5 separate regions of the Homo sapiens genome follow, and regions 2, 3, 4 and 5 are each linked to region 1. Evidence: promoter capture Hi-C in 16 types of primary human blood cells and fetal thymus (Javierre and others, 2016). All regions are on one chromosome and are shown on one strand. The core of a region is centred on a gene start or on the middle of the fragment in contact, and the rest is flanking DNA. Distances in the headings are between cores, read along the strand shown. Region 1 holds the start of EQTN (equatorin). Region 2 has its middle 100 kb from the start of CAAP1. Region 3 overlaps LOC124902135. Region 4 overlaps IFT74 (intraflagellar transport 74). Region 5 overlaps C9orf72 (C9orf72-SMCR8 complex subunit).

What was found. Contacts are between HindIII fragments. The CHiCAGO score rates a contact against its expected background, and 5 or more counts as called.
Region 2: a contact is called between a fragment that was not itself captured here and the fragment with the promoter of EQTN in region 1, in 1 of 17 cell types (endothelial precursors). The highest score is 5.6, in endothelial precursors.
Region 3: a fragment that was not itself captured here is called in contact with the fragment with the promoter of EQTN in region 1 in 1 of 17 cell types (naive B cells); the score reaches 5.1 in naive B cells.
Region 4: a contact is called between a fragment that was not itself captured here and the fragment with the promoter of EQTN in region 1, in 1 of 17 cell types (megakaryocytes). The highest score is 5.4, in megakaryocytes.
Region 5: a fragment that was not itself captured here is called in contact with the fragment with the promoter of EQTN in region 1 in 1 of 17 cell types (total B cells); the score reaches 5.7 in total B cells.

The regions. Positions count from the first base shown.
Region 1 is chr9:27,295,794-27,298,544 of GRCh38, forward strand. EQTN (equatorin) reads right to left here and starts at 1,357. Exons shown (of 8, transcript NM_020641.3): 1 at 1,187-1,357; 2 at 820-945. The coding sequence starts at 1,262. The HindIII fragment of the contact is 8,347 bases long and covers 1-2,751 here.
Region 2 is chr9:26,787,079-26,789,829 of GRCh38, forward strand. No RefSeq gene overlaps it. Among named protein-coding and RNA genes, the nearest start is that of CAAP1, 100 kb to the right of the region's middle. The HindIII fragment of the contact is 788 bases long and covers 959-1,746 here.
Region 3 is chr9:27,716,342-27,719,092 of GRCh38, forward strand. All of the region lies in intron 1 of LOC124902135, which reads left to right. Among named protein-coding and RNA genes, the nearest start is that of C9orf72, 140 kb to the left of the region's middle. The HindIII fragment of the contact is 1,654 bases long and covers 526-2,179 here.
Region 4 is chr9:27,025,137-27,027,887 of GRCh38, forward strand. The region is part of intron 12 of IFT74 (intraflagellar transport 74); the gene reads left to right. Among named protein-coding and RNA genes, the nearest start is that of LRRC19, 21 kb to the left of the region's middle. The HindIII fragment of the contact is 1,434 bases long and covers 602-2,035 here.
Region 5 is chr9:27,556,015-27,558,765 of GRCh38, forward strand. C9orf72 (C9orf72-SMCR8 complex subunit) reads right to left here. Exons shown (of 11, transcript NM_018325.5): 7 at 2,477-2,593; 8 at 547-782. Among named protein-coding and RNA genes, the nearest start is that of C9orf72, 16 kb to the right of the region's middle. The HindIII fragment of the contact is 1,343 bases long and covers 767-2,109 here.

The DNA.
Region 1 (2,751 bases), core at 107-2,606:
TGCACTCCAGCCTGGGCGACAGCGCGAGACTCCGTCTCAAAAAAAAAAAAAAAAAAAAAAACAACGATAAAATTACTTTTAAAATTCAAGAAAACAATATTTTGGACTGGATAAAGCCTGCTTAGGCAAGACACAAAATGCAGAGATTATAAAGAAATAAATAAACAGAACTGATATTATAAAACTTGAAATCTTCTCAGTTATTAAAGATACTTAAACAGGCTTGGCCAGGTGTGGTGGCTCGCACCTGTAATCCTAGCACTTTGGGAGGGTGAGATGGGTGAATCGCTTGAGCCCAGGAGTTGGAGACCAGCCTGGGCAACATGATGAAACACCGTTTCTACAAAAAAAATACAAAAATTAGCTTGGTGTGATGGCATGTGCCTATAGTTCCAGCTACTCGGAAGGCTGAGGTGGTAGGACTGCTTGAACCCTGGGAGGTCAAGGCTGGCTGCAGTGAGCCATGGTCGTGCCACTGCACTCCAGCCTGGGTGACAGAGCAAGACTCTGTCTCAAAAACTGAATACGATACAATAAAATAAAATAAGCCTTAAAGATAAGCAGCATCTTGGCAGAAAACATTTATTACTTTTACCGTAAAAAGGATTAATATATTCTACATAAAAAGAGCCCTTAAAAAGAAATGAAAATACAACCTAATGGAAAAATGGGCAAGGGTATGAACAGGCAGGTCACAGAAGTAGAAATAAAATACCCAACAAATACAGGGGGAAATGATGGAAATTTAAAAAGGACACTTAAGTGAAACCAGGATAATCAACTTTTGCATATACATTTCTATTCACTTTAAAGACTTACATTGTTTTATATCTTTATAATAATTGCCATTTTTCTCATTAGCAGGAGCATAATTGGGAGTATGATCTTCATTCTTTTCTTCCTGCTTATTAACATCTTCATTTAAAGGTAGCACATTAGGCAATGCTAAAAAAAAGTATCACACACCATAGATCAGAAATATGTTGATTTCTTTTACTGCTTTCTTTTTCTAACTGCATTTTTTTCACAAAGGATTAGAGGCAGAGATTTAAAATCTAAAACATACCATAGCTCCAACAATAAAGTTTATATCCTCCTGTAGAAAACTGCCACATACCAATTTTTCATGATTATGGGTCATCCTTCTTACCTACTATTTTTATAAAAGTTTTAAATGCTCTCTCACCTTCAATAGTAGGCTTCAAAGTGCTACTTTTTAAGGAAAAAACTCCAGGTATAAAAATAAACAATATAAAATTCATTGGGAAATTGAAGTGATTTATCCAGTAATCTAGTGCGTCTACCCAGAGCCTCCTTTCTGTGGCCCAGCAGGTCCTGTGTCTAACTAGGACATTATGACATCACTGTCAGATGGGCATCAGAATGTTGGTGGGGGTGGGGGTTCCCAACAGCTTTGTGACTCAGTCTGAAGACTGCTTTATCTCAGGTACTATAATGGTTTTTAGTTATTTTTTAAATAAACCATTACAAGATTTTCTTTGAAAGTTAATAAGTGTGTTTTCATAAAAGAATGTTAATTACTCGGCTCTGGATTTTAAAGAACCATTTGTAGAGCACTCGATTCTGTGGCTAGTCAGGGTGCCACTTGTAACCCGCACGGACCTAGGGGACTGAACAAAGGGGGACGAATGCGGGAATAAAAGACAAAGACAAAAGAGTATATTTGGAAGAAGGGGTCGGGGGCACCTTGCCTCTAGTGGGCAAGGGCCCTGAGCTTTACACAGCCCTCTGTATTTATTAGGCAAGAGAGATAGTGAGAAGGAGGATGGAAGAAGGGGTCAGCTGCCCGGTCCAGAGTAGGCATGCAACACTGCATTCTCTAGATGTCGCAGTAGATAACCTCGGTGCCAGGGAGTGATTGCCTCCAGCAAACCTTCTGTGGGCAGGAGCAGTCGTGAGTTTGCCCACATCCTGCATTCATAATAAACAGTTTGCTGTTTGATCATATAGCCTCCAGTGGAATGCTGAGTGGCTCACGTCCCACGAGCCTTCGGCTCCCTGCAACCATTAATATTGTTAAGAGTAAAATGAGAACAGATCTTTTTGTTTCTCAAAGCATTGCAATATGATGTGTTTTCTTGGATAAATGCAATAAAAATATCTTTTAAAAACTAGTCAGAGGCTGGACGCAGTGGCTCACACCTGTAATCCCAGCACTTTGGGAGGCTGAGGTGGGCAGATCACTTGAGGTCAGGAGTTCAAGACCACCCTGGGCAACATGGTGAAACCTCATCTCTACTAAAAATACAAAAGTTAGCCAGGCGTGGTGGCCCACGTGCTTGAACATGGGAGGCAGAGTTTGCAGCGAGCCGAGATCACACCACTGCACTCCAGCCTGGGTGAAGAAGTGAGTCTCTGTCTCCAAAAAAAAAAACAAAAAACAAAAAACAAAACAAAAAAAACAACTAGGCAGAAAAACCAAGTTCTGATGCCAAATGCCCTACAAGTCTACAAGTTCTGGTTAATGGATTATCTTAACTATAATTCTTTAGAAAAGTTCTCTAAAACTGGTCATTTTTAGATTTTAAGGCCTATATTATATAAATAATTAATAATAACATATTATATATTAGTTATATAAATATATTATATATTTTATAAAATATATAATTATATAATATATAAAATATAGGTCTTATATGTATTTATATTTCATATGGCTTTTGGGGTCCAAGTGGTTCTTGGTTGCATTGATGAATTGTATAGTGGTGAAAGCTGAGATTTTAGTCT
Region 2 (2,751 bases), core at 103-2,602, 510 kb before region 1:
CCAGTCATGGCATTAAAAAAAGTGTGTGTGGGTGTGTGTGTGCTCTTTAGAATGAATGAAACTTTAATGACATAACAGCTGACTGCAATGTGTGGACCATATTTAGATCCTAATTTACACAAACCAAATGTGAAAAAGGTCTAGTGATGATCAGGAAATTTGAACCTAGAGAGTACAGGGAGATCACAGAGTATGAGATGACTTTAGGAGAAAGTCCTTATCCATTACAAGTCTATTCTGAAGTATTTAAAAGTGAAATTTCAAGAAATTTGAAATTTTCTTTAATGTTTTCAAAAAAAAGTAGGGGATTCAATGAAACAAGATGGGAAAATGTTGATCATTGTTGAAACTGAGTTACAGGTACATATAGTTTCCTTCCAGTCTCTTGAGAATATTTCAATATTTCCACAATTAAAAAGTTATTTAAAAGCCAACATATTAACCATTAATCTTTTTAAAGTGCATAAATATCATTACTATAACATAATTTATCTCAGTATAAAATGGAAATAATCTAAATGTTTTACAGTAGCAAAAACTTATTTAAAAATATGATAAACTGGCTGGGTGTGGTGGCTCATGCCTGTAATCCCAGCATTTTGGGAGGCTGAGGCAGGCGAATCACCTGAGGTCAGGAGTTCAAGACCAGCTTGGCCAACATGGTGAAACCCTGTCTCTACTAAAAATACAAAAATTAGCTGGACCTGGTGGCGGGTTCCTGTAATCCCAGCTACTTGGGAGACTGAGGCAGGAGAATCGCTTGAACTCGGGAGGCGGAGGTTGCAGTGGGCCGAGATTGTGTCATTGCACTCCAGCCTGGGCAACAAGAAAGAAACTCCATCATAGAAAACAAAAACAAAAAACCCAAAAAACAAAAAAATAAAACTATGATTAAACCAATCTGATGGAAATTATGCAGCCATTAAAATGACAGAAAGGAGGAGGACAACAAAGAAAAAGCTTACAGAGTTGTTATTTTTAGAATAAAGACTAAATCTACATTAGAATCATACTCTTTAAAATATGTATGAATATAAACAAAGAGTAGAAGAGTAAATAAGAAAAACAGTAAGTTGATATGTCTTTAAAGTGTGGGTTTTCTTACTGGTACTATGATATTGTTTCTGAAACAAAATGAATGCTGACATAAAACAACAAAAAATTGATCTAGATCTACATATGCTGAAATGTAGCAAGACAGCGTTACATTTGCTTTGGAAATAGCATTGGCTTTGGAGTCAGACACTCTTGGCAAGTTATTTAAACAATCGTACAGTCAGTTTCTTCTTTCTCCATCTCAACAACTGATATAGCCACCCTTCAGGAATGGTACAAGGATTAGAGATGTAAGTCCTTAGAGATGTGATTGATGTGGTAACAGTAAGCGGGTGATAGGACAACCATCTTGGCATCACAATATTCGGCACATAGTAAACCCTCAATAAACAGTACTTATTACTATTATCATATTAAAGGTGGGAGAGTTCTGAGAAAATAGAAAACAGAGATGTGAGCTGATGGTCAAATTCCTGCAGACTTTTATGGCAATATAGCTTTCACACACACACAAAATGAAGATAGGGAAAAGTATAATGAGGAATTCAAATCTTATCAAGGCCAGTTGGAAGTACGGGTTGGCTGGAGAGGGGCTAAGACTTGTATGAGGGACATGCAGGGATCACAGGCAGGCAGTGAGGAGGTAAATAAAACCAACCTGTAGGAAAAACTGAGTTCAAACTACTCTGAAGCTTCAAGGCAAAACCTACAGGATCAGAGGAAGAGGGAGATAAGCATGAAAGGAGAAAAGGATTTAGGGTACAAGGACTGTTTGGGTACCTACATATGTGGCTGAGGGGTTGGGGCTTTTTGGCAGTGAGAGGCAATCCCTACTTGGAGCTACGATAGATGATACAGTTTCAGAGCTTAAATGAACTGAAATTCATGTAAGATGATCTCATCCTGTCTCCCCATTCTACAAGATGAGAAAATAAACTTCAGAAAGGGGAGGGCCCTGGGTACCACGGCAAGGTTGTATGGCACAGCTATGCCTAGAATTCTGGCTTACCCTGAAACCAGTGCTCTTGTGCCTCGTTATGCTGCCTCCAAGGTGGATGTCCCATTATCATCACCATGTCAATTATTTTTACCCACATTTATTAAACAAACGAAGCTCTCTGTGTCTTAAAGCATAAAGTATAAGCACTTATTCTTTTCACCAATATCTTTCATATCAGACGCCCCTTACTGACTTCAAATTATTTTGTTGCATGTAACAAAAGAGAATGCAATGAACATTTGTTCTGCAAATGTTCTATCAGCACCTACTATATGTCAGGCACATAAAAACAAATGGCATAGACACTGTTGTCAAGAAGCCTGCAATACAGTGAAGAATATTATGCACTTTGTAATATTCAATGTGACATGGAATTAAAGAGAATGGAGCTCAGGCTGGGTGCGGTGGCTCACTCCAGTAGTCCCAGCATTTTGGGAGGCTGAGATGGGCAGATCACTTGAGCCCAGGAGTTCGAGACCAGCCTGGGTAACACGGCAAGACCCGATCTCCACAGAAAATATAAAAATTAGCATGCACCTGTAGTCCCAGCTACTCAAGAGGCTGAGGTGGGAGGATTGCTTGAGCCTAGGAGGTTGAGGCTGCAATAAACCAAGATGGCACCACTGCACTCCAGCCTGGGTAACATAGTAAGACTTTGTCTTTAAAAAAAAAAAAAAAAAAAAAAAAAAAAACCC
Region 3 (2,751 bases), core at 103-2,602, 420 kb after region 1:
GACTAATTTTCCTCTCACAGTTTTTCCTCAGCTAGAGGGAGAGGGTGTTTGAGAAAGGTCTCATTGGTCTAATGACAGAAGGTTGAATTTAAATAATGCTTCAAACCTCAGGATGTACTCTAAACTTTTGACCCAGTAAATCGTGCCTGGGATATTTTGGGCAGCCCTGAAGCATCTCCTGAGGGATCTTTGAGAGCACAGTACCCAGAGGGCACCTTCAAAGGTGTGGCAGATGACTGTCTCTGCTCCTGCCTCTCCTCATCCGAGCTGCTTTTAGCACTTAGCCAGAGGGACCTTCCTCACGGGCACCTCTGGCGGACACAGAGCACCCACCATGTACCGACAGTGGCTTTGTGCCACCAACCAAAGCAAGTTTAAAAGCTTCGTCTTGCCAGAAATTTTAATTTCCTTGGAAAATACAAATGTCTGGTAACAAGTGTTTTTCATAACAACTTTGTGTTTTTTACAGAGAATGGAGTCACAATTTTGGTTTGCATAGATATGAAAACTCTAGGTATGATAGAAAGCTTGATTATGCATTTAACCAAACGCTTTCACTAGTTGTAATTTTGGTTCCCAAATGCATTCACCCCAGTTTAAGCCTATTACTTCTGGCCAAGGAACCTCTAAGGCTCCCTATTGCTTTCAGTTTGAGGCCATTAGCTTCTCTGATAAGTGGAAACACTACATACTCCACTGATTCTCACCCCTATGAGTCGGAAATGTGCACTCTCTCCTTCACACTGCACTTCTCCATTCTGGTTGGCTTTTTCCTTTTTCAGGAATATCGTCCTTTCCTTTATTTGCTATCCAAATTATTCTCATTCCTCTCCTTCTGCCAGAGGTGTCTCCCTGTCTCAGAAGCCTGCCCCGTTCGTATCATCCCTTCCCGTTGCTCCCTTCTCTTCCTAGAGCACTTGCAGTTTTCACCACTCAACTGAGCTTCACTTTTTTCTGAAAATCCTGATTCGTGTGTCCTTGTCTTAGCGGAACAAGAGTACTTCTTGCCTGGAGCTGGACTTAATAGGCATATATGTTGTTTTCTTCAAGTGGGGGAAAATCCATTAGTCTAACCCCTACCTACCCTTCAACCTCCTCATTCATAAAGATGTGAGTGAAGATCAGAGTGATTTATCCGATTGGCAAATTCAAGAAGAGCAAACTGTGTGCAAGTAGCCCTGCTCTTTTTTTCCCTCTTCTCTTTGGAAGGCTGCAGAAAATATTAATTCTCCACTCTTCCGCCAAGAGGAAGTCTTCTCCAGTTCTCTTGGGAGAAGTGTGCAAATCTGCCTGATGTGATGTCTGACTTTCAGGCATACGTATTCTTGCTCACTAAGCTACATCTTTCAATCTAACCATAATCTGTCATTCCTTTGTTTTATTTTTCAGTTTATTCAGTGCTTGCATGAGGAAAAGAGGTGGCATTTATTGGGGATGCTAAAACAAGGAAGTGACAGTCTTGGCAAAGGTCAGTTGATGCAGGAGGCAGCCATCACCCATAGTGCATGGCAAAGGCCCTGTATGGCTGCTGCATCTCATTTTATTTTGAACAGGCTAAATCTCAGCATAAGACCACTCCAAAACAGACTCTTGACTCCCAGAGGGGGTCATCTGGTAGGCAGAGTTTTTGGTTTGCATCCATCTGGATGCTCAGTATTCCGGCCAAATAATGTATCTTGGTTTTGGCACTGTAAACGTTTAGATTTCCTCCTGATAAAAAGTGTCCAAGAGATTTAGATGCTTGGAGATGCTGCTCCTGGAACCCAACATGGGCCTGGATCAGTGGGAGATGCTGGTTTTGTAGTTTACCACAGCTGGAGGCCCCATTGTCCAGCCCACTTGAACCCTGTGGTCAACTCTGAGTGAGAAACAGAGACCAGGATCAGGTTTCACATACTTCAGAATATAAATTTTAGATTAAGTGTTCCCTCAGTCAACAGCCTTCCCTATTTGTATTGTCAGCAGCATGTAGACTTGTAAAGTTACAAGAGAAGATCAAGAACCATGTACCAGAGTTGAGATATTGCCATTAGGCTGATAAGAGATTTACTGGGTTTGGAATTAGAGGCCAATAACAAAGCAACAACAACTCAAGACTTCATAAAGTCTTAATTTGTTCTCAAGAGATTTAGGTATTAGGTGGATCAAAGAGCAAAGTTAGTTAAAGGATGCATCGTTAAGCTTCAATTCCTCCTCTATCTCAGGCAGGGTATTAGATTGGATGATGCAGACCTGCAGATGACTGGGAAAACCTGCTACCCAGGTTCTGGCAGATTCCCAGCTGACAGGTGGGAGTGTAATATAGAGTATCAGGCATGGTTATTTTAAGAGTTTGCATGGACAGACCACATTTGGGTTTAGGCACACTTAGGATAGAGGGCATGGGATTGTGCTCAAGAAGTGAAATAAAGTGACTTTCAGAGAAAGTTTTGCATTTAGGATCTCACTTTATAGCTCCATATGTCTCCTGCACTCCAGGTTTGCACACCCAGACCTCTTCACAGGTTGGTTAGGATAACCAATTCATCCCATTTTGCCTGGGATTTTCCTAGTTTTAGCACTGCAAGTCTGGCATCGTGGTAAACCTCTCAGTGCTGGGCAAGCTAGGATAGCTGGTCACTCTATAATGTGACATAAGAATGGTTGGTCATGAGATGTTTGTTGAGTGGATAGGGCACGTGGGTAAGTACTGCGACACCAGTGCAAGTGTCATGCAGAGGAAAAAACACATGCTTCAGCCTGAGGTAGACT
Region 4 (2,751 bases), core at 69-2,568, 270 kb before region 1:
TAGACATCCAAATATAAGAATGTCATGGCTGAGCACGGTGGCTCACACCTGTAATCCCAGCACTTTGGGAGGCCGAGGTGGGCGGAACATGAGGTCAGGAGTTCAAGAGCAGCCTGGCCAATAAGGTAAAACCTTGTCTCTACTAAAAATACAAAAATCCGCTGGGCATGGTGGCACGCACCTGTAGTCCCAGCAACTTGGGAGGCTAAGGCAGAAAAATCACTTGAACCTGGGAGGTGGAGGTTGCAGTGAGCTAAGATCATGCCACTGCATTCCATCCTGGGTGACAGAGTGAGACTCCATCTCCAAAAAAAAAAAAAAAAAAAAGAAAAGAAAAGAAAGAATGTCAAAGATTACAACTGGGAAATGCATCACAAAAAGATCATCACTTAGGCATAGTCATAAGATTATCTAAAGTCAAGACAGAGGAAAGAATCTTAAGAGCTATGAGGCAAAAGCATCAGGTAACCTATAAAGGAAAACCTATCAGATCAATAGCAGATTTCTTAGCAGAAACCCTACAAGCTAGAAGGAATTGGAGTCCTACCTTTAGACTCCTTAAAATAATTATCAGCCAAGAATTTTGTATCCATTGAAACTAAGCTTCATAAATGAAGCAAAGATAAAGTCATTTTCAGAGAAATGCTGAGAGAATTCACCACTACCAAGGCAGCACTACAAGAGCAGTTAAAGGGAGTTCTAAATCTTGAAACAAAACCTCAAAATACACCAAAGTAGAAACTCCTTAAATCATAAATCTCACAGGGCCTATAAAACAACACAATGGAAATGAAAAACTAAGGTATTCAGGCAATAACTAGCACAATGAATAGAACAATACCACATATCTCAATACTAACATTGAATATAAACAGCCCAAATGCTCCACTTAAATATACAGAATAACGGAATGGATAAGAATTCACCAACCAAGTATCTCCCATCTTCAAGTGACTCACCTAATGCATAAGGTCTCACATAAACTTAAGGTAAAAGGGTGGAAAAAGTTATTCCATGCAAATGGTCCCAAAAGCAAGTAGGAGTAGCTATTCTTATATTAGACAAAACAGACTTTAACAACAATTGAAAAAGACAAAGAAGGACATTATGTAATGATAAAAGGACTAATCAAACAGGAAAATATCACAGTACTAAATCTATATGCACCTAACACTAGAGCTCCCAAATGTAAAAAACAATTACCACTAGACCTAACAAATGAGATAGACAGCAATACAATTAATAGTGGGGGACTTCAATACTCCATTGACAGCACTAGACGGGTCAGAAAGTCAACAAAGAAACAATGGATTTAAATTATACCCTAGAACAAATGGACTCAACAGATATTTATAGAACATTCTACCCAACAACTGCAGAATATACATTCTGTTCATCAGCACATGGGACGTCCTGCAAGACAGACCATATGATAGGCCACAAAACAAGTCTCAATAAATTTAAGAAAATCAAAATTATATCAAGTATTCTCAGACCACAGTGGAATAAAACTGGAAATCAACTCCAAAAGGAACCTTAAAAACCATGCAGATACATGGAAATTAAATAATTTGCTCCTGAATGATCTTTAGGTCAACAATGAAATCAAGATGGAAATTTAAAAATTCTTTGAACTGAACAATAATAATGACACAACCTATTAAAACCTCTGGGATACAGCAAAAGCAGTGCCTAGAGGAACATTCAGAGCATTAAGTGCCTACATCAAAAAGTCTGAAAGAACACAAATAGACAATCTAACGTTACACCTCAAGGAACTAGAGCAACAAGCACAAACAAAACCCAAACCCACCAAAAGAAAAGGAAATTACAAACATCAGAGCAGAACTAAATTAAATTGAAACAAAAAATTGAAAGATAAATGAAGCAAAAAGCTGGTTCTTTGAAAAGATAAACAAAATTGATAGACCAATAGCAAGATTAATCAAGAAAAGAAGAGAAAAGATCCAAATAAGCTCAATTAGAAACAAAATGGGAGATACTACAACCAATACCACAGAAATACAAAAGACCAAGCTTACAGTGAGCACCTTTACACGCACAAACTAGAAAACTTAGAGGAGACGGATAGATTCCTGGAAATATACAATCCTAGATTAAAGTAGGAAGAAATAGAAACTCTGAACAGACCATTAACGAGCAGTGAGATTGAAATGGTTAAAAAAAAAAAATTGCCAACAAAAAGTCCAGGACCAGATGGAGCCACAGCTGAATTCTATCAGACTTTCAAAGAATTGGTACTGTTTTACATTTCTATGTAATATAATAAGAGCAGCATATGAGCAGCATGTGAGGGTTCCAGTTTTTCACATCCTCACTTGTTATTATCTCTTTTTCTATTATAGCCATTCCTAATGGGTATGAAGCGGTGTCTCACTATGGTTTTGATTTGTATTTGTTTGATGGCTAATGATGTTGAGGTTCCTTTCATATGCTTATTGGCCATATTCTTTGGGGGAAATGTTTACTTAGTTCATTTGCTCATTTTTTAAACTAGATTGTTTTTGATTACTGAGTTGTAACATTTCCTTATATATGCTAGATAGAGGTGTCATCAGATACATGATTTGTAAAAATTTTCCCTTGTTCTATGAATTCTATGAATTATCTTTTCATTTTCTTGGTGTCTTTGGAAGCATAAAAGTTTCCAATTTTGATTTTGTCCAGTTTTTCTATTTTTCTTTTGTTGCTCTTGCTTTTAGTGTCATATCTAAGAAACCAATGCCTAAT
Region 5 (2,751 bases), core at 188-2,687, 260 kb after region 1:
TTACTTTTCCTTTTGAATTTACTGTTCAGGCTTTTTTTTTTAAAAAAAAATAAGAAGTGAATAACAATATAAAATGCAAAGTAAAAAAATGTTCCATTAATATATTTTAACAGTTTTGCTGTATTTTATATTCATATGTCAAGAAAAAAAAGACTTAGAATTACTTCTTTGGTTTTGTTAATAAGTCCATTCAATAACTGTTACATAATAGACTATACACAATGTAGGGGCTGGGGCTGGGGCTGTCTGGTTGGCCACTATTAAGCCCGGTACCTAGAACAGTGCCTAGGAGCTCAATATATATTTATTAAACAAATAGTTAAATATTTACTTTAAGGGTTAATCTTACCTATTTTAGGGTAAACACAATTGTATGGAAAAAGAAGAACATTTAAGAAAAAAATGCTTGATTAAATGTTTCTTCAAGCATAATTCTGCTGGTAATATTTCTTTCTTTTTAAATGCAACTTCTGTTTTGTTTTTATTCGTAAAAGACACAATTTCATATTGCTTGACTACAGTACCAGCAGGCAGAGCATTACGTACAAATCAGGAGTAAAGCTTTCGTCAGTGTAGATGATCGTATCCTGAGCCATGTCTTCTTCTGAAGTGGCTCTCCAGAAGGCTGTCAGCTCGGATCTCATGTATCTACGCTGATTATAAATATGTTCATGACAGGGTGGCATCTGCTTCACAGTATTGACATCCACATCTATGTGTGTGGTGGGATATGGAGCATACATGACTTGCCGGAAAGGCAGCACAAAGCTTCCAGTTGAATCCTGTCAAAATAAAAGGAAAATTTACTGTCTTACATGCCAAACGATATGAATAATTGTTTTTTAATTTTAAAAAATGGTCTCTGATTTAGCAAATCCATCTCTAAAAATTTATCCTAAGAAGCTATTCATGAGTGTGTGCAAAGTTTTAGTGACAGAAGTGTTCAGTATAGCATTGGTTTCAATAGCAAAACATCAGAATGACCTAAGCATCCAAAGGAAGTGGTTAAGTAAATAAAAATGAATTTATTATTTGGCATCTATAGATGAAGTTGTTGAAGTTTGTGTTGATATTCAAAGAGGCTTAGAATCTGCTGTGAAAAAAGCAGATTAGAACATGCAGAGATGATCCAGTGGGGGTGGGAGTCTTAAAGAAAATACATGCAAAAGGGAAAAAAAGACTAGAAAGAGATATACCAAATATTAACAGTGGGTATTCACTGGATTCAAAATTACAAGTGTCTTTTAATTTCTTAATTATTCTATGCACCTCAATGAGTATGTATTTTTATAAAACAAATTTACTTCTTTCCTAATCAGTTGGGGTAGCCAGTTACCATGTAATAATAACCTACTGCGTATGAGGCACTGTGCTATGAACAGAACAGAAGAAAGAGGCTATTTCCATTTTTTTACTATTATAATGCTGTGATAATCATCTTTGTATAATGTCAAAGGTATTTTCTGGAAAACTATATGATTTGTATTTGCATGGAGAACTATTAAATATTTTTTCATTAGATCATAGTTTTGAAATTTCCTCTAGGCATCTGGTATAGGTCCCTTTCAGAACTAAAATTATATAATTAAATGAGAGGGTGCTGAGGAAACAAAAGTATTAAGCACTTTATTATGCCTTTAACAGGAGAAGTTCTAATTTACAGATATGTATAACTCAAATAGAAACTACGTTTCCTTTAACTAGTTTCTATATTTAAATACTATCATTCTGAGTTCATAGCAGCACATTATTGAAAATGCACAAAAGCCTAATATAACTTGTATTTGCAACAATTTTTAAATTTTTTTATTTCATTTTGCCGTGGCTACATCCTCAAGAAAGTAGTCACTATGAGACAATCACATAACCATTAGGAAAGCTATTTCTTCACGTCTTGGGACTATAATTGAAATAACAATAATAGATTCAACAAGGTGAACAACTTTCTTCCCTTTAAGTATTATAAATAATTGCTAATTTACATTTCTCTGTTTTGCTCCTTGACAGTAGACTCAAATAAAAGAAAAATACAATTTTTTTCTAATATATATTATATATAGAAATATATATATTTTAGTACACATACATAGGAATTGCTTAAATCCTATAAGCTTCTTAAAGATGTTTAAAATTTTTTTTCAATAAAATTCAAATCTATTTAGTTAAAAAGAAATGATCTTATTTTTGATGTGCAACCTGATTTAAGCATGTGTTAAAAAAAAAAAAGTCCTGAGGCTAGACATGTAGGAACAGGGACCCACCTGGAACACAAAGGGTATTCTATGGTGTTTCACTGATGATACTAACTATAAATCCATAAGACATATAGTCTATGTGCAGAACTGTGTAAAGGAAGTCAGTCTCTGGGCATGTCAATATGAGATACATTAAATGCTAATATTTAAGATTTGTCTATAAAGAGTCTCAAAAATGATTTTAGAAAAGTGGTTTCACTTGTGATAACTAGAAACTATACCTTTAGCAGGCCTTGTACAAAGAGCCCTGACTCATATTTAAATGATGATTCTGCTTCACATAACCTGGAGCATTTTCTCTCTGCTGGAGTCAGAAAAAGGCATAATGTTCTGACTATCTATAAAAGAAAATATTTTAGCATTAAAACATGAAGTAAAAAGACCACTGATTTGCTTATGAAAGATATCTGAAATTTTAATTGTTATTATCAATAAAACATATCCTAAGAAATAAGTATTCTTTAGTCACCTGGAATCCATGGGATGTAACAGTTGT